Linked DNA regions of Homo sapiens: region 1 is linked to region 2. The links are contacts of gene promoters, found by promoter capture Hi-C in blood cells and fetal thymus (Javierre and others, 2016). All regions are on one chromosome and are shown on one strand. Each heading gives the region's core, a stretch centred on a gene start or on the middle of the fragment in contact. The rest is flanking DNA. Distances are from core to core; before and after follow the strand shown. Region 1 overlaps LTB4R (leukotriene B4 receptor). Region 2 holds the start of PSME1 (proteasome activator subunit 1).

Region 1 (7,818 bases), core at 4,734-7,233, 180 kb before region 2:
CCCAGCACAAGCCACCACTGTGCCCAAGAAGCTACCTGCCTCTTCAACTCCTCATCTCCTCTGCAGTTCTTCTTCCCAACATCATCAGACTGCCCTTTCCAAGCTCCCAATGTGTCCTCCATGATTTCCAACCTCTCCTGGGAGCTCCCTGGGTCTCTGCCTCTCATCAGTGTCCCAGTGAGTGTTCCCACATGCCCTTAATCTCCTTCTGCACACCCTTCCTCAGCCCAAGCCCACAGCCCCCTGAGTGGAGGAACGCTCCATTCTGTGGATTAGAACAGACATAAGTCACACCCAGTGTGTATCAGTGTGTATGATGCCCCCTGTCTCCCAGATAGGACCTGGGCCTGGGAGGGACAGGAAGGGAGCCCTCAGGTGTCCCCCCTCTGCCTATGGGACATGCCCACTCCTGACCCCTGCCTGGCCCCACAGTACTCCATGCACTGCTGCACGCTGGGCTTCCTCTCCTGCTCCCTCTTTCTGCACATGAGCTTCGAGCTGAAGCTGCTGCTGCTCCTGCTGTGGCTGGCGGCATCCTGCTCCCTCTTCCTGCACTCCCATGCCTGGCTGTCGGAATGCCTCATCGTCCGCCTCTATCTGGGCCCCTTGGACTCCAGGTGTGCACAGCTGCTGGACAGAGGTGCCGGGCCCCCTGGGATGGGGTGAGATGGGATACAGCAGAGCTGTCCTGGCCTCACCGACCTGAATCACCCACAGGGCAAAGTGGGAGGGAAGCGGAGGCCTACATGGGGGCAGGGAGAAGGCCAGGAAGGGGGAAAGCAAGGGGTCACCCTGATCCATGGCCCCTTCAGGCCCGGAGTGCTGAAGGAGCCCAAACTGATGGGTGCTATCTCCTTCTTCATCTTCTTCTTCACCCTCCTTGTCCTGGCTCGCCAGGTAAGTCACCCAGCTCAGCCCCACCAGGGCCCACCTATGAGTGGCCCCCATATCTGTGACTTGATCTTTCTAATCTCCAGGGTTGAATGCCCATTGGAAGCTTCTAAGCGAGCCTTCCTGCTTCCTTTCTTCTCCTTCACTCCCTGCCCCTCCTTTCTCCCACACCCCTATCTGGGAAAGCCCATGCTTTAGAAAAAGTCTGCTGCCAATTCTCTATCCCTAGTCTGAATCTAATTTCAAGGATAGTCTCTCTCCAAGTATACTTACACCTTAAGCTCTACTTCTAAACTGGGGGTGGGGTGGGGGTGGTTTCAGGCATCATGGAGTTGGGGCTGAACACTCAGGAGCTGGGCTTCCCCTGCTCTGTGTCTCCCCATGGCCCCGGGTGACCCTCCCCAGAATGAGTACTACTGCCGCCTGGACTTCCTGTGGAAGAAGAAGCTGAGGCAGGAGAGGGAGGAGACAGAGACGATGGAGAACCTGACTCGGCTGCTCTTGGAGAACGTGCTCCCTGCACACGTGGCCCCCCAGTTCATTGGCCAGAACCGGCGCAACGAGGTGACTCCTGACCCCCTGACTCCTGAGCCACGGATGCCATAGGGCCTAATTTCAGATGAAAGCCTTGACCTATGGCCCGTTTTCTCTAGAACCCCCAGAAGGGTCACCCAAGCCCTTGTGCTTGTCAAGCGTCTTTGTTTTCACAACATCTTAGATTCTTTCTTTGGTGAGCACAAAACTGCATTTCAAATTCTTACTTGGAAGGCATGTCTTCTCTAACTCATGACCATTCCATACATTCCAGAAGCCTAGGCGTTGATGGGAGCTGTCTGGAGCAGGGGTCCCCAGCCCCCAGGCCGCAGACTGATACTAGTCCATGACCTGTTGGGAACTGGGCTACACAGCAGGAGGTGAGCGGTGAGCCAGCACTACCGCCTGAGCTCTGCCTCTTGTCAGATCAGTAGCAGCATCAGATTCTCATAGGAACTTGAACCTTATTGTGAACTGCACATGCAAGGGGTCTAGGTTGTACACTCCTTATGAAAATCTATTAGGCTGGTGCAAAATTAATCGCAGTTTTTGCCATTAAAAGTAATATAATTAAAAGTAATTACTTTTTTTTTTTTTTAAGACACAGTTTCACTCTCATCGCTCAGGCTGGAGTGCAACAGAGTTTCACTCTCGTCGCTCAGGCTGGAGTGCAACAGAGTTTCACTCTCGTCGCTCAGGCTGGAGTGCATGTAATGGCACGGTCTCAGCTCACTGAAACCTCCGCCTCCTGGGTTCAAGCAATTCTCCTGCCTCAGCCTCCCAGGTAGCTGGGATTACAGGCGCCTGCCACCATGCCTGGCTAATTTTTTTTATATTTTTTTTTTTTAGTAGAGACAGGGTTTCACCATGTTGGTCAGGCTGATCTCGATCTCCTGATCTCAGGTGATCCACCCACCTTGGCCTCCCAAAATGCTGAGATTACAGGCGCACCGCACCCGGCCTAAAAGTAATTACTTTTAATGGCAAAAAAAAAAAAAAAAAAGAAATGCAATTAATTTTGCACCAACCTAATAACTAATGCCTGATGATCTGAAGTAGAACAGTTTCATCCCAAAACCATCCCCCACCACAGCCTGGGTGCGTGGAAAACTTGTCTTCCATGAAACCCATCCTTGGGTCCAAAAAGGTTGGGGACTGCTGGTCTAGAGGATACAGTCCACCCCTCTCTCTAGACCTGCACTATCCAATATGGTAGCCATTAGCCATATGAAATTTTAATGTTAATTAATTAAAATAAAATATTCAGTTCCTCAGTTGCACCAGCCACATTTCCAGGGCTCAACAGCCACTCGTAGCTAGTGGCCACCCTATTGGACACTGCACATAGGGAATGTTTCCATTGCAAAAATTTCTATTGGATGCTGCTGCTCTAGATCCTCAAAAATCTTGCTAGCGCCAAACCATCAGAAATTCACCCACATATTTGTACCATCTTATTTGTATCATCTGCTGGCCCTCTGCTGTGGAAATGCTCTTGGCTCATATTGAGGGATGTTAAAAGAAACAGCTCAGGAGCTCTTTCACAGCCTTATGCCCCCACCGCCTGCTCCCTGCTCTCAAGATCAGTAGTTCTTTTCTGGTTTCTTCTCTTACAGACACAAGGAATCTTGTAATCGATCCTTTTCTCTCTTCACTTTGGCTGCTAGAAAGCTGAGAGCCAAAATCTAAGACTAAATAGGATTTCATGGCACTCATTTTGTGAACCACCCTCAGATCTGATTCCATCTTTATTATCTTACCCTTATTTTCCCTTTGCCTCATAGTCCCTATTGTTGCTTACTTCATCTTTCATTTTGTACCTATCTTAACTGACTTAAACACTTAAACACATTTTACCCTTGGTTTTGTAGCCGGCTTAATTGACTTAAACACCTTTCAGCAATAAGATAGGATATAGAAATAATTCACATTGACAGGATCCCAGTTCTAGGAGTGACTCCCTTCGTGTTGCTGTGAGGTGATCCTAACGCCAAACCTCTGTCTCTTCTAGAATTACAATGAGATCTAAGCTTTGACTCCTAAGTCACTTCCCTGGGGTAGCCTGGCCCTACTCCTCTCCCTCCTTCCCAATTCTTCTTAAACAGGGAGACCAGGAGTGTGGACATGGGGAGGAGGGCCCCACGCAGACCTCTAGAAGGGAGAGGAACATGACACACACCCCTCACTCCAGTCTCCTGTTCCCCCAGGATCTCTACCACCAGTCCTATGAATGCGTTTGTGTCCTCTTCGCCTCAGTCCCAGACTTCAAGGAGTTCTACTCTGAATCCAACATCAATCATGAGGGCCTAGAGTGTCTGAGGCTGCTCAATGAGATAATTGCTGATTTTGATGAGGTGAAAATTCCAAGAGTCTCCCAGACCCTATGTCCTAGATTCTAGAATTTTCCACCAGTACCTCCTTCCACTTTGCTTTTCTGGCCATGAAGTCAATCCTCCCCTCCACAGTACTCCCTCACCTCCTCTGATCCCCCAGATCTACCCACTCCAGCAACACTGCCCACCACCAACCCTCTCCTTCCTGACACTATCTCCACTCCCACAGCCTGATCCTTTAACTCCAAAGGCTTGGGGCTGGGCTTCTGGGAGAGGTGATGGAGAGAGTAAGAGAGACTGGGGACAGGACTCTTCTCTATATACAGCTGCTCTCCAAGCCCAAGTTCAGTGGGGTGGAGAAGATCAAGACCATCGGCAGCACCTACATGGCAGCCACAGGCTTAAATGCCACCTCTGGACAGGATGCACAACAGGTACGGCAACCCTTCCTTACCTACCATCCTCCTCTGGGCTCTCATTGATGGGCTTATTAGTGGGACTTATTCCTGTGCCCTCACTGGCCCACCCTGGTGGGCGGGCCCATTGCCAGGATGCTGAACGGAGCTGCAGCCACCTTGGCACTATGGTGGAATTTGCCGTGGCCCTGGGGTCTAAGCTGGACGTCATCAACAAGCATTCATTCAACAACTTCCGCCTGCGAGTGGGTGAGAGACTTCCCCTGCTGCAGCAGTCTGGTACCTCCTCACCTTCCTGAGCTTGCCCCACTCCAAGTCCTTTGTTAGCTGCTCCCAGTTCATCCTGAAGCCCCTTTCCTGACTCACTCCCTGGGATGGGGTGTGAAGGTGCTGGGCAAGGAGGTACGAGGCTCTCCCACTCTTTTTCTTAAGCTACATTCCTCCAGCCCTTAGAGACCCCTCCTCTCCTCTAGGGCCCCCCAGGCTCTTCTCCCTTCCTTCCAGTTCCTTGTGGCTTCCTCTTCCCCTCTTCCTTCTCCAAGTCTGTCATTACCACATCCCTCATTAGGGTTGAACCATGGACCCGTAGTAGCTGGAGTTATTGGGGCCCAGAAGCCGCAATATGACATTTGGGGCAACACAGTGAACGTGGCCAGCCGCATGGAGAGTACAGGAGTCCTTGGCAAAATCCAAGTGAGGGAACCACATTGGAGGCATAGGGGGAGGGGGACTAAGAATAGGGCCACCTCCATATTCCCTCGCCCCCCTCCAATTGTAGGTGACTGAGGAGACAGCATGGGCCCTACAGTCCCTGGGCTACACCTGCTACAGCCGGGGTGTCATCAAGGTGAAAGGCAAAGGGCAGCTCTGCACCTACTTCCTGAACACAGACTTGACACGAACTGGACCTCCTTCAGCTACCCTAGGCTGAGATTGCACTCGCCTTCTAAGAACCTCAATAAAGAGACTCTGGGGTGTCTGGAGCCCATTGATGTCTGAAGCTGCTGATATAGCTGGGGATCACCTTCTCATTGCCCTTCAGTGGGAATTCTTCTTCTTCCCAGGCCAATTTTAGTGCGAGTGTGTGTGTGAATGTGTGTGCACATGCCTGCACACATGCATGCATGTGAGACTAAGCATTTTGAAAGGGAGTGATTTTTTTCACAAGCTCAGGAAGAGAACTCCCTCAGCCTCTCTGCCAACTTGATTATAGTATTTTGTACACCTTGGAAGCATAAAGAATTTAGCCACATGACTCAAAACAAAAATTTGCCCTTTCCTGCCCCCTACTCAAAAATACCGGAAGAATCTCCAGGGAAATGTCATTTGAACTTTATTAATTCGACAAACACTAAATAAGTACCTATTATGTGCTCACCATACAGAATGGGCGAGAGGACTGGGAAATACTCCGTTAGGTCCCTCCCAGTTTCAGCTGCTGTTCTCAAATTGGTGCACCATACCTTCCAGTAAGGATCTGTAGACAGCTTGGGGATCTCCTCTTCTTAGGTCCATCCAACATCCCTTTGCTTCCTTCTGCATCCTTCTGCACAGATGCTGGTATATGGGTCTTGAGATATTGATGACTCATTCTCACTGGCTCATACTTTGGGGTCCATGGGAGTATGTCAAACCTTGACATACTAGATTTGTTGCGGATGTTGCATGTGGATATTTGGTTTCCCTCTCTTACTTGCTCTTTTGTTTTTTTATGAGAAAGATCCAAAAAGTACACTGCTGCCACTGTTGTTGCCATCTTCCTAAAACCTTGTCAGAACAGAGTTGGACCAAGGTTCTCTAAAACAACAGTCATCTCTAGGAAATAATGACTCATCCCTCTCACTTTTGGGAATCTTTGTTTCCTGGGGCCCTCAGCCCCACCCTGTGCCAGGGTGTGTTGTGGAGGTTAGCAGATGCTGATATGCAAAATTCTAAGGGATAAGATCTAATGACTTAGTCCTCAAGTCTGGCCTCTTTGTGAAATGGAGGGAAGGAAGGCATCCCCTAGAACATCTCCTATGGAGAGGACAAAGATTATTGGCAGGAAGTTGGAGTCATTCTAACAAGGAGACTTATCACAGGCTTCAAGGAAGATATTTCACAGCAGTGCTGTTTTCTCAGAAGGTCCCGGGTCACAGAACCTGGAGTGATAAGCCCACATGGGTGGTCTTCCTAGACAAGCTGCTTTAGGAGTCTGTAGACTGCGTTTTGCTAAGTATTATCTGCAGACTATGTACTCGGAATCATCTGGGATGGGGGAAGTCTATGTTTCTTTGTGTCCCTTCCAAAATTGTAAATCATGGGGAACTAAAGGACGTGACTCTCAACTACCGAGAGGGGCCCCACCAGGGCGCCCACGAGCACCCCGATACCCACAGCACATGTACCCCACTCACAAGGTTGACCAAATTTCAGACTTCAGTTTTAATGGTTAAAGCTGCCTGTGGGAGCCAGGCTGGAGCACGCTCTCACTCGGCCCTCACTTTGCTCCACCTCTCCCTCTTCTTCCACTCCACTCCCGCCTCCCACGCTCCCACGCCCTCCACGCCCTCCACGCCCCTGCTCCTCCTCCAGGTACTGAACTGGCTCAGAGCTAGCATTCTGCCAGGAGGAAAGTGCGCCTCCTTCCACCAGGCCTAGTTCAGTTCGTTTAACTTGAGAGGGCTGGAGGCAGTGAGGCTCTCGGAAGGGCCGGGCTCCAGAGCGGCGGGGCCGCTCCTAGCGGTCTGGCCCAGGCTGCCCCCGCGGCGCGTGCTGGACGCCTCGGAGCCCGTGCCCTCCAGCAGCTTGGCGACGAAGCCCACGCCCGCCGAGCGCAGCAGGCCGCCGCCGGCGCACGCGTACAGCACGGGGTTCACGCTGCTGCTCAGGAAGGCGAGTGCGATGAGCACGTTGCGGGCCAGGCTCAGCCGCTTCCCCACGAGCCCTAACCCGGCGGCCTGGCCGGCCAGCGCGCGGCCCGCCTCAGCCAGGTTCACCACGTGGTAGGGCAGCCAGAAGGCGGCGAAGGTCAGGATGATGAGCACCACCAGGCGGCCGGTGCGGCGGCTGCGGCGGAAGCGCCGGGCCTGTAGCCGACGCCCTATGTCCGAGTAGCTGGCCACCACAGCCAGGAAGGGCAGCAGGAAGCCCGTGACAGCCTCGAAGATTAGATGGAAGGCCCGGTGCCCTTCGCTGGGGTACCGCGGGAAGCACAGGCTCATGTTCGTTTTCCAGGGCACTACTGTGCGGTACGCGAGGACGGGTGTGGCCAGCAGAAAGGACAACACCCAGATGCCTGCCAGCACCCGCCGGGCCATCGCCTTGGTGCGTAGCTTCTGGGACACAAAGGGGCGGGCCACCGCCAGTGAGCGGTCTAGACTCATGGCCGTGATAAGCAGGACGCTGGCGTACATGCTGACTCCGCAGACATAGTGACACAGGCGGCAACCAGCCAGTCCAAAACTCCAGGTGCCTTGGGCCAGGAAGTGAAGGAAAAAGGGAGCAGTGAGCAATACGGCCAGGTCGGCCAGGGCCAGGTTCAGCACCATCAGGGCAGTGACAGAGCGCTTCTGCATCCTTTTCAGGATACTCCACACCACAAAGCTGTTGCCGGGAAGCCCCACAGCCAGCGCCACTGACAGCAGGATGATAGCCAGCAGAGA
Region 2 (7,551 bases), core at 2,982-5,481:
TATTATTATTTTTTATTTTTAGTAGAGATGGGGTTTCGCCATGTTGGCCAGGCTGGTCTAGAACTTGACCTCAGGTGATCCACGCGCCTCGGACTCCCAAAGTGCTGGGATTACAGGCGTGAGCCACCACTCTCGGCCAACAGACTGATCTTGCTTTAACTGAGGTGTCCCCCAGGGGCTGAAAGAACAGAGAAATCCCAACCAGCAACTTCAAAAATAAGGCAGTTTCCTTATATATATACATATAGGAAAAGACATATATATATATATATATATATTAATCATATACATGGAGCAATTAGAGGTACTGTTTTGTAATTTGCGTTTCTCCCTCACTTAATAAATACTTGACATCATCCCATTTCCACACCAAGATCTACCGTAACAGCTATATAGTCTGAATATGAATGTACTCTAATTTATTTAATACTTTAAACATTGAGGTTGTTTCCAGTGTTTTATTACAGACACTGTCCTATGATTACCATAAATTCTTTATAAGTAGAATTTCTGGGTCAGCATATGTATAGTATGTATACAGTTTCAATTTGGATGGTTATGCCAAATTACCTTCCAAAAAGACCACCTTTGGTTTCCACTCTCACCAGCAATATCTGAGCACCTGTCTCCCACAGCACTCAAGCATCAAGCAGTCGTGCATCAAGCATCCAGCAGGCCCGATCCCCGCAGGCCACCTACAGGGAAAGGCCACAGCTGCGCCCACACCTATGAGACCTGGGAGGCCCAGCTCAAATGGATGGGTTTTGCCCACAGTTGGCTCCTCACTCCTCTGATCTTCCCTCTACACAGCCCTGGGCCCCTGGCCTTGAAAATTGCTGGGCGAATTGCAGAATTCTTCCCTGATGCAGTACTTATTATGGTGAGGCTTGGGTTTCTGGGTGGGGAGGTGAAAAGCAAGTAGGGTGGGGGGACCCTTGAAACTCTCACTTGCCCATCTTTGTCCACTCAGTTGGATAATCAGAAACTGGTGCCTCAGCCTCGTGTGCCCCCGGTCATCGTCCTGGAGAACCAAGGTCTCCGCTGGGTCCCTAAGGATAAGAACTTGTGAGTACCCCACTCCCTCTACCTCTTCTTAGAAGCCCAAGGCTCCTGGGTCTCCTCTGTCCTTGGCCCTGCCCCAAGGGTCTTTCTCTAGACCCAATCTCTGTTAAGTCTGTGTCTGGACCCACTACTTGCTGTTTGACCTCCATGGGGGTTACTATTTCAGAGTGATGTGGAGGGACTGGGAAGAGTCACGGCAGATGGTGGGAGCTCTACTGGAAGATCGGGCCCACCAGCACCTTGTGGACTTTGACTGCCACCTTGATGACATCCGGCAGGACTGGACCAACCAGCGGCTCAACACTCAAATCACCCAGTGGGTTGGTCCCACTAATGGAAATGGAAATGCCTGAGCCAGGGCCAGCGGGGCCCGGTTCCAATAAAGAGACTTGGGCTGATGGGCAGTGGTATAACTATATTTATTGTGCCTGAGAGGCAAGGTGAGGGAAAAATCTCAACAGAAGCAAGTTTGGGGAAAATCTGGAGTCCCCAGTAAAAAGCAGGAAGGTCTCTGCTGTACTCATCACAGAATGGGAGAGAGGGCTCTCAATAGATCATTCCCTTTGTTTCTCCCCTGGGCTTCTTGAGCTTCTCGAAGTTCTTCAGGATGATGTCATATAACACAGCCTACAGGGCCAGGGAGTAGAGGTCAGTCAGAGGCCTCCAGTGGCTCTGTGCCCCATTTCTAGCCTTGTGGAGAAGCTGAGCTTTGTCACCCTTAACCCCTAGCCTGCAGGGTCAGGGAGTGGGTGGCCTGGGAAAGCTGCCTCTGCCCACCCCTGCCCTGCCCTTGCCTCCTCACATAAGCATTGCGGATCTCCATGACCATCAGCCGGATGTCCCGGTACTCTGCCTCATCCAGCTCGTGCACCAGCTGCCGATAATCACCCTGTGGGAAGCTCGGGTCAGGCCTGACCTTACATGTGTCCTTCCCCCATGCACCCTGACCTGGGCCTCACCTACCACATGGGGCTGCTTGGCTGCTTTAGTCACTGCATCACCACGCTCAGAGAAATACCTGTGGAAGGAGAAGTGTGTATGGAGTAGAAGAAGGAGGTCTCCCAAAACAAAAACAGTGTGCACATGGGTGGTCACTCACTTAGAGATTTGAGTGTGGAAGCCTTCTAGCTTGGTGTGGAGGCTGGTCATCAGCTCAAACACCTTCTCCTAGGGAAAAAAAGCAAGGGGGAAAGTGGAAGGAAGCATGGACTAGAAAAGAGCAGGGAAGTGGGGCAGCGCTCTCACCTGGACAGCCACTCCAAAATTGTTACCATCCTCAATCCGAGGTATCTGCAGCTGCAACCAGGTGGTGACCTGGGAAGAGGGAATGGCATAATGCCACATCAGCCCTCTACCCAATTCCCAGTTTCATATTCTCCCTTGCTTCCCTCCCCACACTGGGTGGAGGCGTGCCGGGTCTATCCTGAGCCCCAGGGCCTGGACTTCTGGTTTCACTTGCTGTGCCCTCTCTTGCTAAAACCTGGCAAGTGCCAGGCCCTAAATGGCAGGGACCAAGAGGACAATGGTTTGACTTGAAGCCTGAGAGTTTAAGGGGGAGGGCTTACCAGGTTGAGCTGCTCAATGACATCCTTGATCTCAGGCTTCAAGCGCTGCAGAAGGACCACGATCTTTTCATTGCAGTTCACTGGGCCACAGGGAGGACCTAGAGAGTGAGCAATGGGTCAGTCACATGATTGAGCCTGTGTGAGGGGCGAAGGGGAGACTGGAAAGAAATCCTTAGGAGGAGCTCCTGTGAGTGGGACTCAAGTCTCTTCCCACCATTGTGGTTTCAAGTACCTTTGTCTTCATCCTCCCCCTTCTTCTTTTCATCCTTGTCTTCCTTCTGCAGAAAGAGAGGAGCTCATGAGAGTCAGGACTAAGGTTGATTACCCCCATAGTTGGATCCCTTCTCCCAGGTCTTCCCAGCTTGCCTCCTGCTGTTTCTTCCGCTCCTCTTTCTCTTTCTCCTTGACTGGATCAGGCACTGGGATGTCCAATGGGGCCTTCAGATTGCTCAAGTTGGCTTCATTGAGAGCTGGCTCCTGGTGTAGGGTGGGAGGAGGGCTGGAGGTGAGGGAGTTCCTCTCACCTCACTCTCACAGCCTCCAGACTCTTCTCTTGGCCTTTACTCCCTAGCTCCCTGCCCAGCCGCGGTACCTTTAAAAATGCATCCAGCTCAGAAATCTTCTTGGGGAAATAGCTCCCGAGCAGGTTCTCTGTCTGTGTGTGAGGTGGGGGTGGAGGAGGATGGGAGTCAGCATCAAATGCCCGTCCTAGGTAGTGAGGCAGGGTTGAGCAGTAGGAGTTGGGCAGGGGTGGGGCCACGCTGATGGGGCATGTCTTACCTTGGTACAGAGGTCTTCACGAAACACATCCACCTGTGGGGCACACGCATCCCTTCAGAAACTTGGCTTTAAGGCCAGTTCATTTGAGGACAGTTCCCTTAGGGTTATGTAGGGCCTGACCTGGGGAAGGGTGGAGGGGATCCCTCTAAGGCCAGACCTGAAGAAAGCGAGATGGATGCCTGTAGGGTGGGTTGGGGTGGTGGAGAAGGTGGATCTCTGCAGACCTGGATCTACGGAAAGTGGAGTGGGTATCCCTGGGGCTGGATATGGGGGATGAGAACATTCCTGGCGGTGAAGGGCCAGTGTTCACGTGAGAACAGATCTCTGGGGTCGCCTGGCAGGTGTGAGGAGGGGTGCTGAGAGTCCTCTGCAAGTAGGACAGGGATGGGGTGGGCCCCGGGACCCTCCCTGAGGGAAAGGCCAGAAGGTAGCTGGGGCAGTCCCGCACCCAGTCTGTGTGTGGCCCCGGCCCCAGGCCAGCGGAGTTCCCCTCCACGCCAGCTCTCCGCTTCACCTCACCCCGCAGAACCACGGCCGCCTCGCCTCTCCCCGCAGGCAGCAGTCGCCGCCCTCCCCGGGGCGCAGGTGCTCCGGGCGCGCCAGCTCGGCCGACTGCCCCCGACTCGCGTGGGAGCCTGGGGGGCGGGTCGGGGATGCCCCCGGCCGCTCCAGCCACGCCTCCCCAGTGGGCCCTTTCTAGACCCCGCGGCGCTCACCTTGGCTTGGGCCTCGGGCTGGACCCTGAGCATGGCCATGACCGGGACGGGGGGCCTAGCGCCGCACAAGGAGTGGAGTGGGCACCGCGAAGGGAAAGCGAAAGCGGTAGGGCGCTCGCACCCAGCTCCGCCTTCCTGGGTAGTGGGGCGGGGAGGGCTGGAGGAGGCGGGGTCGGATGGAGGAGGCGGGGTCAGCCCTGCCATGGAAGGGGCGGTGCCGCAGAGGAGGGCGGCGGGTGAGGCTCCGCCTAGCGCGCACAGGCGCTCTTCACCCACCCTCCCCGCGCCGCCTCGCGAGGGCCAGCTTCCAGGCTCCCCACCTCCGCTGGCCCGGTCCCCGCCTCCCGCCTCCCGCCACCTGCCGCCCGCCGCCTGAGGACGGCGGGTCCGGGTCCTCCCATCGCCAAGCCCAAGCCAGTCTCTCCGCGTCCCAACCTCCACCTCCCGCCTCCCAACTGGCTCCCCACCTGCTCTCTTCTTCCCCTGCTCCGCCTGGGACAGATAAGCTTTACTTAGGGCTCTTCCGTCTTTCCCTAGAGATGGAATAAGACCTGGCCTGTCTTTCCTAGCCTTGCTAGCGTGGGCCTCTGGCTCTGCCGACATCCTGCGCACCTGTAGCAACACCGGCACCAGAGCTGGCAGCATCCCTATCCAAGCCCGGACCAACTCTCTCCTGGACCACGGCTGCAGATGCCATTCTATAACCCACTCTCACGGAGCAGCGGGTTCATGCCTCTCTCTGGCTTAAAACCCTTTCTCAGCTGCCTGTTGACCTTTGAATGAAATCCAAAAGGCTGTCGCACCTGTCTCCCCTTTAAGTCCACTTTCTACTGCTTGCCCCTTCATTCATTACACTTGCAAATATTTGGGCTATTTGTTTCTCAGATGTGTCATGTTCATTTCTGCCTCAGGGCCTTTGCCCTTGCTAATAATCCCTTTGCCTAAAACACCCTTACCCTGGGTGTTGTCATTCGGTTCTCAGTTTAGATGTCACCTCTTCAGAGAGAACTATTTTCATCATCCTTTATAAGGAACCTCCCTCCAAATCTATTACAAATCATCCTGTTTTAGTACATTCATAGCATTTATCTCTCTGATATTAGCCAGGTGTTTTTTTTTTTTTTTCCAGGATAATTTACTGATTTAAACCAGGTTTTGGCAAACGTGTGTGTGTGTGTGTGTGTGTGTGTGTGTGTTGGGGGACGGAGTCTCGCTCTGTCGCCCAGGGTGGAGTGCAGTGGCACCATCTAGGCTCACTGCAACCTCCACCTCCAGGGTTCAAGCGATTCTCCTGCTTCAGCCTACGGAGTAGCTAGGACTACAGGCGCGTCCCACCACGCCCGGCTAATTTTTTGTATTTTTAGTAGAGACGGGGTTTCACCATGTTAGCCAGGATGGACTCGATCTCCTGACCTCGTGATCCGCCCGCCTCGGCCTCCCAAAGTGCTGGGATTGCAGGCATGAGCCACCGCGTCTGGCCAACTTTTTCTATAAAGGGCCAGAGAGTAAATATTTTAGGCTTTATAGGCCTTACAGTGTCTGTCTACTCAACTCTGCCATTGTAGTAGGAAAGCTGCCATATGTAAATGAATTAGTTTGGTGAGATAACATTTTATAGACACTGGAATTTGAATTTCATGTAACTTTCTCCTGTAATAAAATATTCTTATTCTTTTGCTTTTTCAACCATTAAAAAATGTAAAAATGGCCGGGCACAGTGACTCACGCCTCTAATCCCAGCACTTTGGGAGGCCAAGGCAGGCAGATCACTTGAGGTCAGAAGTTCGAGACCAGCCTGGCCAACATGGTGAAACCCTGTGCCTACTAAAAATACAAACACTAGACGGGTGTGGTGGTGGGGGCCTGTAATCCCAGCTACTCGGGAGGCTGAGACAGGAGATCGCTTGAACCTGAGAGGTGGAGGTTGCAGTGAGCCAGAATTGCACTCCAGCCTGGGCAACAGAGTGAGACTCTGTCTCCAAAAAAATAATAAAAATAAAATAAAAATAAAAATGTAAAAAATGTTTTACCTTTTAAAAAAAATTTTTATACAGACAGGGTCTCACCATCTTGCCCAGGCTGGTCTCAAACTCCTGGGCTCAAGTGATCCTCTTGCCTCAGCCTCCCAAAGTGCTGGGATTACACTGCCATCACTGCCAGGTCTCTGTCTTTAAAAAAAAATTATATATATATTATATATGCAAATATTATATATAAAATATATAATAATATATATAATATATAAATATATATATTATACATATATAATTATTAGCTCGCAGGTCATACAAAACTGGCCACAGGAGGGCCAAAGTTTGCTAATTCCTGGTTTAGAGGATAGATGATATACCCATATTATCTAGCTTTGTAATCATGGCTCCTCTGTTTATTAGTTGTGAACAAGTTACTTAACCTCTGTGTCTCAGTGTTTGCAACTGTACAATGGGAACACTACTATCTCAATTTTTTTTTTTTTTTGCCAATCAAGATCAGTACAACCTACCTCATACTTTTATTGTTGTGAGGACCAAATGTGTTAACTTTTTTTTTTTTGAGATGGAATTTCACTCTTGTTGCCCAGGATGGAGTGCAGTGGTGCAACCTCAGCTCGTTGCAACCTCCGCCTCCCGGGTTCAAGGGATTCTCCTGACTCAGCCTCCCAAGTAGCTGGGATTACAGGCGCCCGCCACCACACCCAAGTAATTTTTTTTTTTTTTTTTTGTATTTTTAGTGGAGATGGAGTTTCACCATGTTGGCCAGGCTGGTTTTGAACTCCTGACCTCAAGTGATCTGCCCACCTCGGCCTCCCAAAGTGCTAGGATTATAGGCGTGAGCCACCGCGCCCGGCCATATGCGTTAACTTTTATAAAGAACTTACAGACACTTAGAACAGTGTCTGGCACAGAGTAAACGCAGTGCAAGTGTTTTGCTATTATTTGTGTGATCTATTATCTGCCTTCCCCAGTTAGCTCATATGCCTCCAAACAGCAGAAATCTTGTCTTATTTACATGGCATAGAACTATGCTCAGCTCAATAAACATTTGTTAAATAGATGAGCACATACAGACCCCCTACGGGGAAGACAGGGTAGGAAAAGTCCCTGCGAGGAGTGCCCAGATAGGTAGGCCCCTGAAGAGAGGGAGTGGAGATTCAGTGGAGAAGGCAGGAAAAACAATCAAACAGGCTGGAGATGGAGCAACTGCTCAGCAAGAATGATGCCCACACCTAAGGGCATTACCTTAGAAGCACCATTCCTGGATGTCTCAGTCCCCAGATAGCCTGAAGTCTGCAAAAACTAGGAGACTGAAAGGACAGCTGGAGGGATGGAGGTCAAGCATAAGGAAGGACATTCAAGGTTGATGAGAGCAAGGAATGGCTGGGGAACCCTAGTGACTACCAGACCCTCTTCCCACCCTTTCAAGGACCC

The links. Contacts are between HindIII fragments. The CHiCAGO score rates a contact against its expected background, and 5 or more counts as called.
Region 1: a contact is called between a fragment that was not itself captured here and the fragment with the promoter of PSME1 in region 2, in 1 of 17 cell types (total CD8 T cells). The highest score is 5.1, in total CD8 T cells.

What each region holds. Positions count from the first base shown.
Region 1 is chr14:24,315,703-24,323,520 of GRCh38, reverse strand. LTB4R (leukotriene B4 receptor) reads right to left here. Exons shown (of 2, transcript NM_001143919.3): 2 at 5,485-7,818. The coding sequence ends at 6,811. It overlaps ADCY4 (adenylate cyclase 4), which reads left to right. Exons shown (of 25, transcript NM_001198568.2): 17 at 67-177; 18 at 433-617; 19 at 813-897; 20 at 1,297-1,455; 21 at 3,633-3,779; 22 at 4,085-4,192; 23 at 4,309-4,423; 24 at 4,743-4,867; 25 at 4,953-5,162. The coding sequence ends at 5,105. Among named protein-coding and RNA genes, the nearest start is that of LTB4R, 8.1 kb to the right of the region's middle. RefSeq lists enhancers at 950-1,909, 6,941-7,441. The HindIII fragment of the contact is 5,052 bases long and covers 3,458-7,818 here.
Region 2 is chr14:24,132,874-24,140,424 of GRCh38, reverse strand. It overlaps PSME1 (proteasome activator subunit 1), which reads right to left and starts at 4,231. Exons shown (of 11, transcript NM_006263.4): 1 at 4,124-4,231; 2 at 3,408-3,440; 3 at 3,220-3,282; 4 at 2,994-3,104; 5 at 2,860-2,905; 6 at 2,628-2,725; 7 at 2,308-2,376; 8 at 2,162-2,229; 9 at 2,026-2,080; 10 at 1,865-1,951; 11 at 1,463-1,689. The coding sequence starts at 4,162. The coding sequence ends at 1,609. It overlaps EMC9 (ER membrane protein complex subunit 9), which reads left to right. Exons shown (of 6, transcript NM_016049.4): 4 at 811-880; 5 at 971-1,065; 6 at 1,229-1,460. The coding sequence ends at 1,415. RefSeq lists silencers at 3,898-4,187, 4,238-4,657. The HindIII fragment of the contact is 8,418 bases long and covers 1-4,631 here.